Linked DNA regions of Homo sapiens: all the other regions are linked to region 3. The links are contacts of gene promoters, found by promoter capture Hi-C in blood cells and fetal thymus (Javierre and others, 2016). All regions are on one chromosome and are shown on one strand. The core of a region is centred on a gene start or on the middle of the fragment in contact, and the rest is flanking DNA. Distances in the headings are between cores, read along the strand shown. Region 1 overlaps GALNT6 (polypeptide N-acetylgalactosaminyltransferase 6). Region 2 overlaps ATF1 (activating transcription factor 1). Region 3 holds the start of CSRNP2 (cysteine and serine rich nuclear protein 2).

The links. The method cuts DNA at HindIII sites, captures the fragments that hold promoters and counts their contacts. A CHiCAGO score of 5 or more calls a contact.
Region 1: a contact is called between a fragment that was not itself captured here and the fragment with the promoter of CSRNP2 in region 3, in 1 of 17 cell types (erythroblasts). The highest score is 5.4, in erythroblasts.
Region 2: a contact is called between a fragment that was not itself captured here and the fragment with the promoter of CSRNP2 in region 3, in 1 of 17 cell types (M1 macrophages). The highest score is 5.4, in M1 macrophages.

The regions. Positions count from the first base shown.
Region 1 is chr12:51,363,347-51,367,479 of GRCh38, reverse strand. It overlaps GALNT6 (polypeptide N-acetylgalactosaminyltransferase 6), which reads left to right. Exons shown (of 12, transcript NM_007210.4): 5 at 1,901-2,050; 6 at 3,125-3,359. Among named protein-coding and RNA genes, the nearest start is that of CELA1, 19 kb to the right of the region's middle. The HindIII fragment of the contact is 1,990 bases long and covers 754-2,743 here.
Region 2 is chr12:50,790,287-50,794,597 of GRCh38, reverse strand. All of the region lies in intron 2 of ATF1 (activating transcription factor 1), which reads right to left. Among named protein-coding and RNA genes, the nearest start is that of ATF1, 28 kb to the right of the region's middle. The HindIII fragment of the contact is 1,529 bases long and covers 1,310-2,838 here.
Region 3 is chr12:51,081,442-51,085,712 of GRCh38, reverse strand. It overlaps CSRNP2 (cysteine and serine rich nuclear protein 2), which reads left to right and starts at 2,117. Exons shown (of 5, transcript NM_030809.3): 1 at 2,117-2,374. RefSeq lists an enhancer at 1,066-1,692 and a silencer at 2,066-2,555. The HindIII fragment of the contact is 4,493 bases long and covers 1-4,128 here.

The DNA of each region.
Region 1 (4,133 bases), core at 499-2,998, 280 kb before region 3:
ATGGACTGCTTCAGAATAGAGCTATTCTTCGTTTGTTTTTTGTTTTGAGACAAGTCTTGCTATGTCACTCAGGTTGGAGTGCAGTGGCATGATCTCAGCTCACTGCAACCTCCACCTCCTGGGTTCAAGCAGTTCTCCTGCCTCAGCCTCCCGAGTAGCTGGGTTTACAGGTGTGCGCCACCACACCTGGCTAATTTTTGTTTGTTTGTTTTTGGTTTTTTTGAGACGGAGTTTCGCTCTTGTTGCCCAGGCTGGAGTGCAATGGTGCAATCTCGGCTCACTGCAACCTCTGCCTCCCAAGTTCAAACGATTCACCTGCCTCAGCCTCCCGAGTAGCTGGGATTACAAGCATGCGTGCCCAGCTAATTTTGTATTTTCAGTAGAGACAGGGTTTCTCCATGTTGGTCAGGCTGGTCTCGAACTCCCAACCTCAGGTGATCCACCTGCCTCCGCCTCCCAAAGTACTGGGATTACAGCCATGAGCCAGCGCGTCTGGCCTAATTTTTGTATTTTTAATAGTGGCAGGGTCTCACCATGTTGGCCAGGCTGGTCTCAAATTCCTTGGCTCAAGTGATCCATCTGCCTTGGCCTCCCAAAGTGCTGGGATTACAGGAGTGAGCCACCGTGCCCAGCCAGAATAGAGCTATTGTTAATGCTCTGAGGATTTCAGACTAAATTACAGGGCCATGAACTAAAACTCTTCTTTGAAAGGAGCTGGAGGTCTCAGTAGAGACATCTTCCCTTCAAAAAGCTTTCCCCGCTCCTCAAATCCAGGAGATTTGGCCCTTCTTTGGGACCCACACCCCAGCACTACCTCTGTTAGATCATGGATCACCTGCCCTGGAATTGCCTGTTTCCTGGTCAGCCTTGCTTCTGGGTGGTTTGTTCCTTAGGACAAATGGTCAAGCCGGCTGGGCTCGCCACTGTGCCTGGTCCGTGGTAGGTGCTTGGTGCAAGTATTTTCTTAATATAATTAAAAAGCTGCTGGGCATGTTTTCACCTTAAAGAATTCTATCTGCAGAGGAGGTTACAAAGGGGATTAGAGTCAGATGTCCTGCTGCTGATCCAGCAAGCAAGGAGTCACCATTTGTGTATGCCCACCCATCGACGTTACCGTGAAGAGCCTGGGAGACAGGGAATCCTAGACACTGGAAAACAACCGTGCAATGGAGCTGTGGAATTGCAGCTCTGGAAGATGGTGGCTGAGAGGGTGGAGAAACTGAGGGAGGCATCTGAGAGCCTCTGTCAGAATTTTGTACTTGGGCCGGGCGTGGTGGCTCATGCCTGTAATCCCAGAACTTTGGGAGGCCAAGGCAGGCGAATCACTTGAGGCCAGGAGTACGAGACCAGCCTGGCCAATATGGTGAAATGCTATCTCTACTAAAAATGTAAAAATGAGCCAGGCATGGTTGCACACACCTGTAGTCCTAGCTACTCAGGAGGCTGAGGCAGGAGAATCACTTGAGCCCAGGAGGTGGAGGTTGCAGTGAGCCAAGATCACGCCATTGCACTCCAGCCTGGGTGACAGAATGAGACTCCATCTCAACAACAACAACAAAAAGTTTGTACTTGATACGTGACCACAGAAACACAACTCTGAGGTGCTGTCCCTGACATTAGAGAGGGTGCCCAGGTGAACAGGCATAGGATCTAGCACCACAGAGCCAGAGCCCTGGTGAGGCAGTTTTGACCACAGACAGGGCTTCTTTCTTCCTCTCCCCATCTTCCCTGTTAACCTCCTTCCCCAGCTCCGGCTTCTGTGGAATGGCTCAGTACAGCAGGTGTTGGGGGTTTAAAATTCAGGCCTGCTAGAGGCCTGAGAGCCCCTAGCTTGGTGCCCACAGGGGATTGGGTATACAGCAAAGTGGTGGACTGGCCACAATGACACTGTCCCTTCCAGAGCACCTAAAGGAGAAGCTGGAGCAGTACGTGAAGCAGCTGCAGGTGGTGAGGGTGGTGCGGCAGGAGGAGCGGAAGGGGCTGATCACCGCCCGGCTGCTGGGGGCCAGCGTGGCACAGGCGGAGGTGCTCACGTTCCTGGATGCCCACTGTGAGTACCAGGGCACCGGCCTGGGTGTAACCTGGAGGCTCCCTCCCTGCTAGAATGAGCCAGGGCCACAGCCTCCCCAAGGCCCCTTCCTGTTCTCTCTTCCGGGAGTGAAGGAGGCTTGGGACCCACTCCAGGTGCCTCTACCCCTTTCTCACCCCAATCCCAAGGATGTTTCATCAAGAAGACAAACATCCCTAAAACAACTGGTGACCCCAAAATCACTGGAAGTGATTTCCAGTGATCACCGGGGCCCCGGACATTCATCCCTCCCTGTACTCCCATCTGCACCTTGCTCTGAGCTTGGCCCCTCAGAGAGGCCTCCTGCTATGACAGAACTGGCTTGTTTGGGGCTTTCTTCTAGGGCAACATGGAGCCAGGAAGGCCTCCTTCTTGCCCAAAACCAAAACACTTCCCCACTGTTGTGGAGGATGAAATATTTTCCCTAGGAGTGGTGATATATATTAGGGGAAGCTCTAGTCTTGGAGTCAGAATTCTTGGTTTGCATTCTGACCCTGCCCCACTAACAGCCTCAGTTTCCTCATTTATAAAATAGGAATGAGGATACTAACCTTACTGAACAGAAATATTACTCTGAGGGCCGAATGAAGTAATAATACGTGCAGAAGCTCACTGAAAATCTCAAGGAGCTAGACAAATGAAAGAGATTATTCTTCTACAATTAGGGCTGAAGCTTGACATGCGGATGCCCCTGGGAGGGGGAACACCCTCTTCTGAAATCCACACGTGGGCCCGGAGGGCTGGGCCAATGGATCGGCTGGAACCCCGGAAGATACCATCCAGGGCCTCCCTGTGCTTTTGGGTCATCTGAGTTGACCATGTTACTCCCCTGAGACCTCCATTCTCCCTGCCAAAGCTGCCTCCGCCTTTGGGGGTAGAGGGGTGGTAGAAGGGTTTTAGGAAATTCTGTGTGCTCCCTGTAGCTGTGGGGCTTGCTGCCTGTAACCCAGGAGTAGGTGGACTGTCTCTTATCCTCCTGGGCATTCCCTCCAGGATGCAGCTTGGGCTCTGCTGTGGGCAGGGCCCTGACTGCTGCCTCCTGGTTGGGGCCTGCAGGTGAGTGCTTCCACGGCTGGCTGGAGCCCCTCCTGGCTCGAATCGCTGAGGACAAGACAGTGGTGGTGAGCCCAGACATCGTCACCATCGACCTTAATACTTTTGAGTTCGCCAAGCCCGTCCAGAGGGGCAGAGTCCATAGCCGAGGCAACTTTGACTGGAGCCTGACCTTCGGCTGGGAAACACTTCCTCCACATGAGAAGCAGAGGCGCAAGGATGAAACCTACCCCATCAAGTAAGGACCGCAGCCTGGTGAGCCCCCAACCTGGCCCCAGTCCTACCCAGTTCCAGGAACCTGTGCCATCTCACATCAACATTTGTTAGGTGCTCTATCAAGCACTTGACATATTGTGATTAATCCTCACTCCCTATGAAGCAGGTACAATACTAAGAATACTAAGGCTCATAGTGATAAACACTGACCTAAGATCATGCAGCTAGCAACAGTGGAGCAAGGACACACTTCCCGGACTGTCTGGCCCTAACCGTGGCACTGCTCTTATTCACCATGACAGTTTGCTCTTATTCACCACTTACCATGTGCCAGGCACTGAACTAAGGGCTATACATTCTTTAGTTTATTCCTCCCTACACATAAAAGGAGTGGCCCATGCTTGCAGATGGGGCAAGAGATGTGATGGAGGCCATTGTGGAATAGTCACTGTAATAAGAGGGAGTGGTATGTGCCCCCAGGTGACTGTCTTTGAAAAGACTGAGAATATACTAAAAGAAAACAGACACATTTTCTGCAGCGTGAAGTTTGTAGCAGTTGCCCTGAACTTCTTTGGTGAAGGGCCAGATGATAAATATTTTGGGCTTTGCCAGCCACATATAGTTTGCTGCATATTCTTCATCTTATTTATTTTTTATTTTTTTTACAAACATTAAAAAATGTAAAAATAATTTTTTGCCCCAGAGGCTTCTAAAACCAGGCAGCCAGATTTTGCCCACAGGCTCTTGTGTGCCAGCCCCTGAGCTGCAGGGTAGACAATTGGAAGTCAACCCACAG
Region 2 (4,311 bases), core at 825-3,324, 290 kb after region 3:
GATATCCGACTTCATCTGAATTTTTTTTTTTTTGAGATGGAGTATCACTGTGTCGCCCAGGCTGGAGTGCAGTGGCACGATCTTGGCTCACTGCAACCTCCACCTCCTGGGTTCAAGTGATTCTCCTGCCTCAGCCTCCTGAGTAGCTGGGATTACAGCCACGTGCCACCACGCCCAGCTAATTTTTGTATTTTTAGTAGAGATGGGGTTTCACCATGTTGGTCAGGCTGGTCTCAAACTCCTGACCTCATGATCCACCTGCCTCAGCCTCCCAAAGTGCTGGGATTGCAAGTGTGAGCCACTGTGCCTGGCCGACTTCATCTTAATTTTTAAAAATAAAATAACCCAGGCCAGGCGCGGTGGCTCACGCCTGTAATCCCAGCACTTTGGGAGGCCGAGGTGGGTGGATCACGAGGTCAGGAGATTGAGAACATCCTGGCTAACACGGTGAAACCCCGTCTCTACTAAAAATACAAAAAATTAGCCGGGCCTGGTGGTAGGCGCCTGTAGTCCCAGCTACTCGGGAGGCTGAGGCAGGAGAAGGGCGTGAACCTGGGAGGTGGAGCTTGCAGTAAGCCGAGATCGCGCCACTGCACTCCAGCCTGGGCAACACAGCGAGGCTCCCGCTCAAAAAAAATAAAAATAAAAATAAATAAAAAATAACCCAAACAGGCCTTTAGAAGGGACATAAGAAATCAATTCTCCACATTAGTTACTATCTATAGAAAGCCTTCCCCTAAACTATTTAGACATGAAATTTCCAGAGAGGCTTCTTTTATATGTTATTTCCTTCAAAAATGAGTTCTAGTATATAACTACTCATTTATATTTCATATTAAATCTATATCATTATACAGAAAAGAATTAGTCATAACCCAATAATAATTAAGAAATAACCAATAATTAAGAAAAATCTGTCACTTTTCTTTTCCTCAAGCATCATAAATTTTTTTTTTTTTTTTTTGAGATGGAGTCTTGCTCTTGTCGCCCAGGCTGGAGTGCAATAGCACAATCTTGGCTCACTGCAGCTTCTGCCTCCCGGGTTCAAGCGATTCTCCTGCCTCAGCCTCCCAAGTAGCTGGGTAGCTGGGATTACAGGCACCTGCCACCATGCCTTGCTCATTTTTGTATTTTTTAGTAGAGATGGGGTTTCACCATGTTGGCCAGGCTGGTCTCGAACTCCTGACCTCGTGATCCGCCCACCTCAGCATCCCAAAGTGCTGGGATTACAGGTATGAGCCACCGCACCTGGCCATAAAATACTTCATTTCTAATCTAATTCTTTAACTACACTGTCTGTTCCTAAGCTTACTCCAAAGCCTTCCACTGAACTTAAGAAAATAAATTGTAAAACTAAGGAATTACTTGTAATTAAAATCAAAAATTTATCTTTAATAACAGCACCAGCAAATAAGACTAAAATTTCCATATAAACACTAAAAAAATCCATGCAGCCACCTCCTTTCACATGGGAGTACCACATAAAGATGCAGCTCTAGTTTTTACAACATTGCCATAATCAGGAGAAGAAAGGAGGAATATAGCTTTTCTTCTAGGAGAGCTGCTTCTAAAAACGAGAGATGACCAAAGGTATTCTGGGACTATAAAATGGGAAAAGTAGAAAGAAAAGGAATCTAGGATGGCTCTTTCTTTCGTACTTTTGTAAGGTGTTAATATGAAGGTAGATAAATACAAATAAGAACTTTCCTCTACTACAAGAGAACTCTTTTATTTGACCTCCATAAAGCATGTGGTAGGTAGGTACTAACTCCATAAAGCATATAGAAAATACCTGGGATAAAAGGGTGCTTTCCCTTTAAAAAAAAAAAGTCCCTCATTTCCTTAAATCATAAGCAATAACTTTCCCTAAAATTGTCTTCTATTTTCACTAGGTATTATATACATGAAACTAGAAATTCTAAAACTTTTCTATTTGCCTGATTTGGTCTGCAGTCTAATTTGTAAGACAACTTTATCTTGGTTTATATATTATAGGTACAGCAACTGAAATGTATCTGAAGACTCAGGGTATAAAAGTTCCAACTCTCGACCACTAAGTCTTCAAATTTCTGTATCATTTGCACATGTGGTGGGTGAATTACAGAAGACTGGGCTGTCTGGATGACCCCCTGAATCTGTACTTGCTCTCCAGGAAGACGTATAATTGTCACTGGCGCAGATCCATTTAATGACATCAATAGAACAAATACAAATTCAATTAACAAAATATATATTGTACCTATGCACATAAGATAGCTGAGTTCTTAACACTGGAAACACATTTCAGAGCTGATTATATTTAATCGCATCATTAACCAAACATTAGGTACCTTCTATTGACCAGAGGCTGAACTAGGGATTGAGAGTACAAACTAACTATAACAAATAGAGTAAGAGTTATAATAGAGGAAAATTACAAAGTACTGTTCTGTGGGAGCAAAGAAAGGGTGTTATTTCATCTGGGTTTTGAATAATTAACAATTACCTGAGGGTATGTATGGAGGGGCAGGAGTTAGGGGACTGGAAGGTATTTTAGGCAGAGGAACTGATTGTGCAAAAACATGGAGAATCTTTAGCACATGCTATTCTGAAGAGATATGGTTGAAAACTAACCAAGAAACCAAGAGACAAAAAGTGAGTGAAACACCAACTTCGGGCAGCATCTTGAAAAAATATATATATATATTTCAAGTAAATGACTGAATCATGAAATTGTAATTTATTTCTGTTGAAATCAGATGCGGTTTCATGGAAATACCATGATAAAATGCTAAACTAAGAAAAGTCCACTCATCATCCCTCCAGGCTCACCTCAGGTCCTACCTCTTCCAAAAAGCTTTCTCAAATATTTTCAGTTAACAGAGATCTCATGCCTTCCTCTGGACTACTCTGGTCCATACCATTACTCTTGGATTTAAATCACAAAATAAAATCCTGGACTACTTCTCAGGACTTGAAAGTAAGCTTCCTTCCTGCTCCCCTGTTCTCCTTCTTCACATTGGGCTCCAAGAATACTGCTTTCCCTGTTTTTCTTTTTTTTTTTTTGAGACTGAGTTTCACTCCTTCCCAGGCTGAAGTGAAGTAGCACGATCTAGACTCACTGCAACCTCCACCCCTGGGTTCAAACGATTCTCCTACCTCAGCCTCCAGAGTAGCTGGGATTACAGGCATGCGTGACCACGCCCAGCTAATTTTTGTATTTTTAGTAGAGACGGGGTTTCCCCATGTTGGCCAGGCTGGTCTCGAACTCCTGACCTCAGGTGATCCGCCCACCTCCGCCTCCCAAAGTGCTAGGATTACAGGCGTGAGCCACCGCACCCAGCCTTCCTGTTCCCTTTCTTCTTTCACTGAAAGTTCTTTTCCTCATCCCAAGACTAGATTAAACAAACCCCAGTCTCATCATCCCTCAAAATGCCTAGGGTCATGAAATTCTGTATAAAATTTATCCAGCCACTAAGAACTGTAAACTCCATTTGTAGCACAAACAATGCCATTCTAACTGACCAAATTCTTGACCAATGGCTTTTGTCATGCCAAGGTTGTGTCCCTAGAATGACACCAGAGCCCCCTTAAAACACCTGCCTGAGAAAGTTCAATTCTACCAAAAAATTTTACTGTTTGTTCCAGCCAAAACTTGACTATAGGCCCCATCCTCACTTTTCTTACAGCATTTTAGAAAACTTGCTGTTATGAATCCTTTCTCTGTCCCATGAGATGTAGACATTCTAAAACCTAGAAATCTTTCTTTGGGCCTGTAAATGTAGTAACCAAGAAAGAAAAGATTTGGTCCCTGTCTCCCAGTCTGTGGGAGAGTAGGAGCCAACTTTGACAAGTGCCAATGAGCAAGCAGGACGGCTAATCATAGTGACAATTCCTTCCCTCCCCCAAACATCTTATGTACTTTTCCTTTAGAACACCCCAATATTTAAAAAGCTTTCCATCTGTTTCAGTGGAGCTGAGCTCAGTTTATGTTGGAGTTTCTCTCCTATACTGCAGTAATCTGATAAAATCTGTCTTGCTGCCTTTAACATATGTCCAGCTCTGTTCCTCTTTGACAGTACCCCAATATGGGCATAGAGAAATTGAAGAATAAGAATAAACAAAGAGCTGGGTGCAGGGACTCACACCTATAATCCCAGCACTTTAGGAGGACAAGAGAAGCCCAGGAGTTCAAGACCAGCCTGGGCAACATAGGTAAAATGCAGTCTCTACAAAAAATACAAAAATTAGCCAGGTTTGGCAGCGCATGCCTATCGTCACAGCTATGTGGGAGGCTAAGCTGGGAGGATTGCTTGAGCCCAGGAGGTGGAG
Region 3 (4,271 bases), core at 868-3,367:
CTAGCTTCTTGGAGTCTCTGATGTCACCTAGGGGAGAGAACTGAAATTCTTAGCATGTTTTCCCAAGCCATCCAGCCTCTCACTTCTAAAGCTGAGATGGCTTGGTAGCTAGTGGATCTGGCTTCATAGTTTCTTGGTTGCAGTGAAAAATGTACCAGGTTTTGGAACCAGCCTAACGTGAGTTTAAATCCTGCTGTCCATCCATCTATCCAATAAATATCTATCATACTCTTAAATGTCAACTACTAGGCTTTGTACTGTGTGTTGAGGATACAGTAAACAAAACAATTCCTTGCTCTCACCGAATTTAGTCAAGTGAGACAAGACAAAAACAAATACGTGGATGCTAAGAAGAAATATAAGGCACAGGGATAGAAACTAAGGAGAAGCACCATTTTAGAAATATGGTTAGGCATTTGTGCCCGGGAGTTTGAGGCTGCTGTGAGCCGTGATTGCGCCACTGCACTCCAGCCTGGGTGACAGAGTGAAATCCTGTCTCTTAATGCAGGGAAAAAGAAATATGGTTAGGGAAGATCTCGGATATGGGGACATTCGAGCAGATATTATGTGAGGGAGTAAGTATGTGGCTAGCTGGTGGAAGCCAGACAAAAGGCCCTGAGGTAAGAGAATGATTGCCCAGTTGAAGGAGCTGCAATGAGGCCAGTGTATTCAAGCAGAGTATGGAAGGGGGAAAGTAGAAGCAAACAAGATGACAGAACAAAATGAGGGGGCGGGGTGGGGGTCGGGGGACAAGAGAATGCAGCTCGAGCTTGCCGAGCCTTATAGTTCAAGGGAAAGACAACAAAGAAGAAACCAAGGCTATGTGTCCTTGGCAAATCACATACAACTTTTGACTTCTTAATCTTGGTTTTCCCCTTTTTTTTCTTTTTCTTTTTCTTTTTTTTTTTGAGACGGAGTTTCGCTCTTGTTGACCGTGCTGGAGGGCAATGGTGCAGTCTTGGCTCACTGCAACCTCCGCCTCCCGGGTTCAAGCCATTCTCCTGGGTCGGCCTCCCGAGGAGCTGGGATTAAAGGCACGTGCTACCACCCTCGGCTAATTTTTGTATTTTTAGTAGAGACAGGGTTTCACCATGTTGGTCAGGCTGGTCTCGAACTCCTGACCTCATGACCCGCCCGCCTCGGCCTCCCAAAGTGCTGGGATTACAGGCATGAGCCACCGCGCCTGGCGCCCTTTCTTAAAAATAGGTTGCGGAAGGGCGCGGTGGCTCATGCGTATAATCCCAGCACTTTGGGAGGCCGAGGCGGGCGGATCGCCTGGGCCCAGGAGTGCAAGACCAGCCGGGGCAACATGGCGAAAACCCCTTTTCTATTTAAATAAATAAATTAGTTTGCAAAGTTGAGAAGATTTTTTTTTTTTTTTTTTTGAGACGGAGTCTCGCTCTTTCGCCCAGTCTGCAGTGCAGTGGCGCGATCTCGGCTCACTGCAAGCTCCGCCTCCCGGGTTCACGCCATTCTCCTGCCTCAGCCTCCCGAGTAGCTGGGACTACAGGCGCCCGCCACCACGCCCGGCTAATTTTTGTATTTTTTAGTAGAGACGGGGTTTCACCTTGTTAGCCAGGTTGGTCTCGATCTCCTGACCTCGTGATCCGCCCACCTCGGCCTCCCAAAGTGCTGGGATTACAGGCGTGAGCCACCGCGCCCGGCAGCAATTTTTTTTTTTTTAAAGAAAACACTCAAAGCACTCCCTCATATAAGTAGATAACTCAAGATATTGCTTGTATTCTTTATAACCTGCGCAGGCTGCAATAAGTCATATTGCTGAAGACTAAGACCCCATGAGCGAGGAGAAGGGGGGATCATGTTCCTAATGGCGTGTGGTCAGGACACGAAAGAAAAAGGGAGCTTTGGAGGAGAATTCGTTTATTTAAGATCTGTAGCTGAGTCTCCTCTCTTCCCCCATTAAAAGGTTGCAGCAGAGCTGCCGCCTCGGGAGCCGGTTTGCGCGCCGGCTTCGGCTTTGCAGCAGTTACCGCCTACAACTCCCGGCATGCTGCTGGGTGTGGGCCGGCCCGTAGACTCCATTTCCCAGCCAGCCCCGGGTCTCGGTCAGGACGTGCCGGCGCCTATAAGAGCCAGTGCGCTGCGGCCGGATCCTATTGTTAGCCGGAGCCGGGGCGGTTCTGGGCGTCTGCTGCCGGGGGCGCCCGAGTTGCCGGAGACGCCCGGCCCTCTCTGCCTGCCGGCTGGGCTGCCCACCGCCCTCCCTCCCCGCCCTGCCGCCCTGGGAGCTCCCCGGCCGTCGCCGCGGGGCCCGGGACTCGCTCGCTCCTCCCTCCTTCCCACCGGGCTAGGGCGGCGGCGGCAGCGGGGGCGGCAGAGACCATCACGGGAGGAGGCAGCTGCGGCGGGGCCGGTAATGGGCCTAGGGGTGCGGGGCGGAGGGTGCCGCCTCGTCCTTTCTCGGGATCGGCCCTCGGGCGGCCGTGGAGGAGTGGTCAAGCCCAGAGCCGTGCGGATGGAGGGGTCAGAAATGAGAGGCTCGGACGGGAGCGGTCGGGGGGCGGGGAGGTCGGGTGCCGTTGGGAAGGAACCGAGTCGGGAAGAGGCGTGGGAGCGAGGGGCACCGAGGACGCTGGCCCGGACTGCGGGGGCAGCTCGCGGGAGACCGATGGGCGGCTTGGAAGCCTGCAGGATTGCAGATGAGGATTGAGTTCGGAATGGAGTGGAGAATGATGTAGGATGGAGGAAAGTGAAGGAAGGGGAGGGGGAACAGAGGAAAATGTGGGAGGAGTGGTTGGGAATTTGTGAGTAGCAGGCAGGAAGGGATGCGGAAGGCTGGGTAGGGGCTGCAGAGGATTGGAATGAGCGGGAAGGTTAGCAGGAATCAGAGGGAAGTGGGCCGAGAGCTGAAGGGTTCGGCAGGAGTGTTCATTAAAAGGAACTGGTGACTTGACATGTCCCTTCGCTCCGGTTCCTGATGTCTCCCATATTTCTGGCGTCGTGTGGGAAAATGAAAGCATCAATTGCCCTGGTTGCTAGCTTGATCTTTTTTCATAGGCCCAATTACGCAGCCAACTGCCACCCGTCCCTTTTAGTGCTGTGGTCTTGATTCATCCTTTTAAAGGGGTTGAGAGTGGCAGTGTGACACACAAACTGTTCTTCAGAATGAAATGCTAGAAGTTATCCCCACAAGACAACACTGTCCCCTTGTCCTGCAGTTTTCAGTTCAAGGTAAATTCATAGTTCAGATTTTTTTCTTCACTGGCTTTCTGTCTTGCAAATCCACAAAGCCAGGATGTTGGTTGTGCCGGTGTTATAAATGACTGGATATCCTTGAGAGTTAATGCAGCATCATGTTCCAGTTCCCACAAAGATCTGTCTTCCACACGATGGTAGTTTAGGCATGGAAAATTCTAACCTTGTGTTAGTGAATGGGTAAAAATCGGGGAGTGGGGGTGGTGAGTGCACGGCTTTCTTTAAACACCTAACTTAAGCGGGGGGTTTTCACTTGGGTGCTTTGTAAGTTCATGATCCTGGTGATCACAAAGACACATGGATCCATGAAATTCATGGTATATGAGAAACAACCACAGTATCTTGTAAAAGGAGAAACAGGGCAGGTCATTTTATTCAGGTTTATGGTAACACAGCAGCAAGCCTTCCTTCCAACCCAGCTACAGATGGTAGCCCTGACCATCTTACTGGAGGTTTTGATTCCTTGACCTTTAGCAGAAGGTTGGGTTCCAGTCAAGTGAAGAGGCTTTCTCCTGTGAGATGTAGCTTATTACTTTGGACTCATTTAAGAAAGAGACTTATATTACCTAAACTTTGCAAATAGATTCTTCCAGAAAATTTTGCCTGGGCAGTCCCTCTTGCTGCTCTCACATATGCTGTTTTTTTTTGTTGTTGTTGTTGTTTGTTTGTTTGTTTGTTTTGGTGGTTATAGGAATCCTTTTAGGCCTGAAAAAAACTTAGATCTAGTACTAAAATATACATATTCTGGTGGAACTGTTTATTAGGTGCTAGCCTGATGTATTCTGTGCTCTGGATCTTAACTATTTCATATAACTTTGGAAAATGTTCAGCTAGAAACTCTTGAGAAAAGACCATTAGACATGTAGCCAGAAAGTGTCAGCTGACCTTTCATTTCACTGGCATTTAAAAGCTTTAAAGAGAGTTGCATTATTTTCTCCAAAAGCATTTGTTGAGTTGGTCATTTTGACAGTTAACTGTCGGTTTTTACCTGCATTCCTAGGTGCTAAAACTTACAAGTGTATCTCTTGAACACAGGCATTGATCCTCTACCAATG